2 separate regions of the Homo sapiens genome follow, and region 1 is linked to region 2. Evidence: promoter capture Hi-C in human tissues and cell types (Jung and others, 2019). All regions are on one chromosome and are shown on one strand. The core of a region is centred on a gene start or on the middle of the fragment in contact, and the rest is flanking DNA. Distances in the headings are between cores, read along the strand shown. Region 1 overlaps COL27A1 (collagen type XXVII alpha 1 chain). Region 2 holds the start of COL27A1 (collagen type XXVII alpha 1 chain).

Region 1 (2,700 bases), core at 69-2,568, 41 kb before region 2:
CTGCCACCTCTGCTAGGCTGCCACCCCCATGCAGAACAAGACCACCCGAGGCTGCTTTATGAGCTGGGACCGGAAGGAGCCTTTTCCACTCACACCTCATCCATCAGAAAGCGCTAGAGCCCAGAGAGGAAGTAAGTGGGGAGCGCAAGTCCCTCTGTGTTCTGTGAGCCAGAAAGGACCATGTTTCCCAGCTCACAAACAGCCACTGCTTCTGGGGTGGGCCTCTCAGGTTGAAGGTATGGCCTGCTCTGGCCATGGAGAAGGGAATGGGGGAACGAGGTCCTGCAAGGCCCCCTGTGTCATGGGGCTCTCAAGGCAAGAACAGGATGGAGCTGGGAGACACCCCAGCTGTCCAGATGAGAGCCAGATGGCCTAGAGAGAGTTCAGCTGTGGCCACAGCTGGGAGCCAGGGCAGAAGCTTAAGACACAGTGGTAGGCCGATGGATTCACCAGACAATCCATCAGCGGTTGGGGATTTTCTTGGAAAAAGCAATCGATCCTTAGTCTGCATTGCCTTCCCCCCATTTCCTGAACACCTGCTATGCACAGGCTTCATGCTAGGCTCAGTAGGAAGAGCAATAAACCAGATTTGCACACCCTGGTTGGTGAGGCATGCCTGGTGGCTCAAAATAACTAAGCCAAGACAGCTTAAGTGTTCTTGAGCAGAGAGGAGCCTCATGGCCTGAAGCTGGGTGCTCCAGGAGGACTTCCTGGAGTAGGCACAACTAGAGTAGAGTCTTGAAGGAAGGGAGACACAGGCTGGAGGAGTCACAGAAATCCAGGGGGACTGTAAGTTACAGACCCACTACCCAGGAAATGCCAGTCTTTTCCTCACACAGGCGTTTGGACAGGTAACTCCCCCAGCATGGCTGAAATGGGGATGGGATGGGCGTGACATAACAACAGCCAGCAAGATAGAGAGAACCCACTGCCTCTCCAGATCATTCCCCTTCCCCTTCCCCTGCAGAGCATCAGCGAGGGCCGCATATTAGACTCTGAGAGCTCACTGACTTGCCCAAGGTCACCCAGCCAGGAAATGGCAGAAGCAGGAGTAGGACCCAGGTCCAACTGACCCCAGGGTCCACTCCCTCAACTTCTCCGCTCCAGGCCTTGCTCCTGGTCACACAGCCCCAGACTGTGCAGGGTCAGAGACGGGGATCATTGTCTCCATCTCATGTAGGAGGAGGCTGAGGGGCAGAGACAGGACTCGCAGGCCCACGGCCTCTCAGACAGTGGGTGGTGGAGCCAGGGCCAGCACAGGTTACTCCATCACCACAGGCTTTCTTGAAGGTGGCCTCCCTGGGAGCGGCTGGGCCCCCAAAAGGAAGGACAGCAAACCAAGGATACTTCCTATGCTACCTCATTAACCGTGGTGGGAGGCACCTACTACGAGCCGAGGTATTCCCTGCCCTCAACAGGCACAACCCTTGGAAAGCTCTCTCACCTCTCACCCATGTACCCTGTGCCCAGGGGAGCTGGGCTGGGGCTGGGGAGAGGCAGGTGGGCCCACAGCTCTTCTGCCTGAAGACCTGGCTTGCTAGGAGGCCCACTGCGCAAGGCAAAGCATCAAAACCAAACAGTACCTTTCGTCCCGGAGGTCCTGGATTCCCGGAGAGCCCAGGCAAGCCCATGTCACCCTGGAAGACACAGACAAGGTGGGTGAGGCAGGAAAACGGGAGCAGAGACACTCTGCTACACTCTACAAATTGGAATGGTAACTTCCAATGGCTGGTTGTTTCCAAATGAGATTCATAGAGAAGTAGAGGCCTCAGAGGAGACTCGGGGGCTGCCCAGCAAGAAGAGTGAGTGGTGTACCCAGCCCCTTCCCCACTCAACTCAGCGGCTCCATCTGATCTATTTTACATACTGGGCTTCAGCAGAAGACACCACTTGAAGAATGGGTTCCGATACTAAAACCACGTTTGAAAACTATGCTCCAGAGGACATGTGCCTTATCAGTCCCATATCAATCAGCCATCTCTCCCTGCAGTCCTAAGACACCTTCCATTGCTGGGCATGCCACTGGCCAAGCAGGGGGCATTTCTGCCACCACCCCAAGACCTGAGAACAGGCCACACAGGAGCAGGAGGGAAGCCTGGGCTCCTGGGTGCCGATCTCATTTTGCCACTTATCAGCTGCATGACCTCCAGCAAGCCACCCCTGCCTAGGCCTCCGTTTTCTCATTTGTAAGCTGGGCCCGTCTGTCCTGGCTCATGGGGTATGATGGGGGTCAAGTGGTAGTATATGGGAACACTCTCCTGGGACCCTGGGTCACCCAGTAAATATGTGCTAAGTGCAAACACCTAGCAGTGAGGATGTGAAGAAATAAGCAACTCGTGTCTTGGGGAAATCAAAGAAAGCAGCCAATTCTAGGTGCCTTTAAGCACAGGAGGCTGGGCTGAGAAGCAGTGTTCCATCCATCAGGATGGCTCTGGGGCTGTGTCCAGAAGGAAGTCAGGCAGACCTGGGCATTGCTTCCAGGGTGTGTGTGCCTGGAAGACTGACACACTGGACAATCTCATTTGGAGTTCTGGGCTCCCCTCTTCCCATCTGTCCTGCACTCCCTCCAAGTCCCTTGCTCAGTTTATGGGGTGGATGCTTCAGAGACGGATGAAGGCCTTTAGCCAAAGTGTTTTTCCTTCTGCAGGCAAGCCTGGTTTCATAGCCCTTCAGAGTTAGGGAGCCCTGAATCTCTAGCCT
Region 2 (2,700 bases), core at 141-2,640:
GTGTCCTGGGGGCAGGATGGAAAGAGAGGAGCGCCGTCCACAGGCCCCAACGGGCTGCTTGCATGCTGCTGGCTCCCACACACACCCACACGCTGCGCCGGCTCCAGCACAGGCTCACTCTCTCTTACAACTCCTACTCCACACGCTGGGAATCCCAGCCTCTGGGCCCCAGCTCCGCGCAGCCGCTCCTGGGAGAGTCCCTGCCCCTCTCCGGCCCTGTCTCCCGATCTGTACACTGAGGGGTTCCGCACAGTGATCGCCCAGGGCCCTTTCTGCTCTGACATGCTGGCTCTCACTTTTTCTCTCTTACACACGTGAAAGGGACAGGAACCGAGAAGCAGGAAACACAGACACACAGACCCAGGCCGACTAACACAAACACGCGGAGATTTCCAGAAACGCGGGGACGTGCAGAGCCACACAGACACGGAGACAGGAGCAGAACCCGAGACCTGGTGACCTAGAAACTTGCGGACAATTTCACAAGAACAGATAGAAACGGAGACGTACAGGCTTGGGACCTGCAGACACTGAGACACCGGAACACACCGAGACGGCCCCAAACGGAGACCCCCCTCCTCCCCCAAGCATCCAAAAAGCCCCCCTCCGCACCCCGCCGGCCGCTCCAGGCGCCACCACCCACCCCCACCCCCGACCCCCGGGCTGGCTCTGCCCCCGCCCCAACGGGATCGGGCAGCCGGGCCAGGCGCGGCAGGGCGGGCAGCGTTCGCCAACTCTCGCCCGGCCGGGGGCGCAGCCCCTATTAACCCTTGGCGTCCCGCCTCGCGGGGGCGCAGGAAGGGGCAGGAAGCTGACGTTCCGCTGGAAGCGACCGCATGGCGGGGAACCCCGGCCCTCCCCGAGATTGGAGCAGCAGGAAGCTAGGGAGGGGGCGTCCCCGAGTTCGTACTCACCCCCCGCGCGCCGCCGCCGCCGCCGCTGTGCCTCGGGCCCCCCGCGCCGATCCCGCTCCCATGGCAGGCCCCTACTTCATGCTCCCGAGCCCGGGGGGCAAGTGTGGGCGCGCCCCATGGGGCCGCCAGCCCCCCGCCCCGCCGCGCCAGGCCGGCTTAGAGCGCGCGGCCCCCGCGCCCCCAGCGCAGCCCCGCGCCCAGGGGCGCCCGAGCAGGCAGGCAGCGCGGCTGGGGCCCCGCGGGCGCCCGCGCCAGGCCCATGGTCCCAGGAGTCCGGGCGCCGCGCTCGCCCCTGCCTCGGTCCTTTTCTGCTTCCACCAAAAAGGAAGAAGAAGCAAGAAAAAGAGAGAGAGAGATGATCAAACTTTTGGAGGCGGGCTGCTGGCGGTCCCCGGAGGCAGAGCAAGGCCGGGTGAGGGCGCGCGGAGGGCGGTGGAAGCTGCCTCCCCGCCGGCCTGGGGGAGGAGAGGAAAAGGAAGGATTTGGGGGAAATGAAGGCGATTTAAAGTCTCGGCCCGCGGTGGCTCTCCACCTTCCCTCCTCCCCGCTCCCGGCCGCCCTCTGCTGCCCCCTGCTGCCCCCTGCCGGCCGGAGCCAAGGGTACAGCCTCAGCTGGCCCACTACAGCCCCGATGGGACACCCGCCCCCCTCCTCCTTGTATAGATGGGGAAACAGATTCACAGAGAGGAAGGGGCTGCCCAGGGCTTCACGGTGATTTGATCACCGTTCTGAGATTAGGAACTTCTGACTGGTGAGGCTGGGGGTCCTCCAATGGGGGGTTGGGGTAGGGGAGAAGGGCCAAATTCTACTCCTGGAAGAAACCCACAGTTTCAGGGACGGAGCTAGGACCAGAACTTGGTGTCCAGACGCCCACGACAACCAGTATCGTGATCCCCACCGCCCACCAAAAGTTTGCGCTCCCAGACTCGGAGCGCCCTGGAGAACATATAGGGTGGGCTTGTTAAGGGTTTGCCACCCTCTCTCTCCCTTCTGTCAGCAATTGGAATCTAACCGCACCCCACCACCACCACTAACCACGCACCTCCCCAGAATCGACAAAAACTCCCTCGGATCCCATCCGGGAGCTAAGAGCTGCACACCTTGGCCCCCGGGCAAATTCTCACACCCAAAACTCCAGTCCAGCCCTGGGACCACAGCTCCCTCCGCCTCTACCACCTCTTGCCACTCGTTCACGAGCAAAGTTACACTTATTCACCGGTGCACACACACACTCCCACACGTATCCACCCTTTCCCCAAACTCAGACACACGCTCACACACGGTCCCATTCTGGGACAGCCACGCACCCTTCCTAGGTTCACACGAAACGCATCCTCAGATATCTGGGCTCAGGCGCACGCTGATACTCTACACTCGCAGAAGCATGCACACGGATGCTTACACAGGCACAAATGCACGCTATCCTGGCCATATCGCCCCCACACATGTACACACCCCGGGTGGACACACGCGCGCACACCCTCACTTGCACACAGTTCTCCGAGAGTGCCCACCGCACATGTGCACACACGCATTCACTCCTCACGCGTGTACCCACCTCCCCATACGCGCACACCTTTAGGCGCGCGCACACACAGGCATATAACACTTCGCACCGCTCCAGGAGCCCCCAAGCACTTACTGGGTCCCTACGTGCGAGGCTGGCCGGTCGGTCCTTCCTCCGGCGCCTAACGGCATTTGTATTCATGGGTCCCCGCAGCCGTGGGCGCGGGGGCGGGGGGCGAGGTCCCCTTCCCTAAACGGGGCGCGGGCGCGCGGAGCGCAG

The links. The method cuts DNA at HindIII sites, captures the fragments that hold promoters and counts their contacts. A contact is called where the count stands out against the background at its distance.
Region 1: a contact is called between a fragment that was not itself captured here and the fragment with the promoter of COL27A1 in region 2, in 7 of the 25 tissues and cell types used here (bladder, lymphoblastoid cells, mesenchymal stem cells and 4 more).

The regions. Positions count from the first base shown.
Region 1 is chr9:114,194,896-114,197,595 of GRCh38, reverse strand. It overlaps COL27A1 (collagen type XXVII alpha 1 chain), which reads right to left. Exons shown (of 61, transcript NM_032888.4): 7 at 1,584-1,637. Among named protein-coding and RNA genes, the nearest start is that of MIR455, 13 kb to the left of the region's middle. The HindIII fragment of the contact is 5,487 bases long and covers 1-2,700 here.
Region 2 is chr9:114,154,227-114,156,926 of GRCh38, reverse strand. It overlaps COL27A1 (collagen type XXVII alpha 1 chain), which reads right to left and starts at 1,390. Exons shown (of 61, transcript NM_032888.4): 1 at 915-1,390. The coding sequence starts at 976. It overlaps LOC105376225 (a long non-coding RNA gene), which reads left to right and starts at 2,659. Exons shown (of 5, transcript XR_930256.3): 1 at 2,659-2,700. RefSeq lists silencers at 224-518, 1,406-1,525. The HindIII fragment of the contact is 14,734 bases long and covers 1-2,700 here.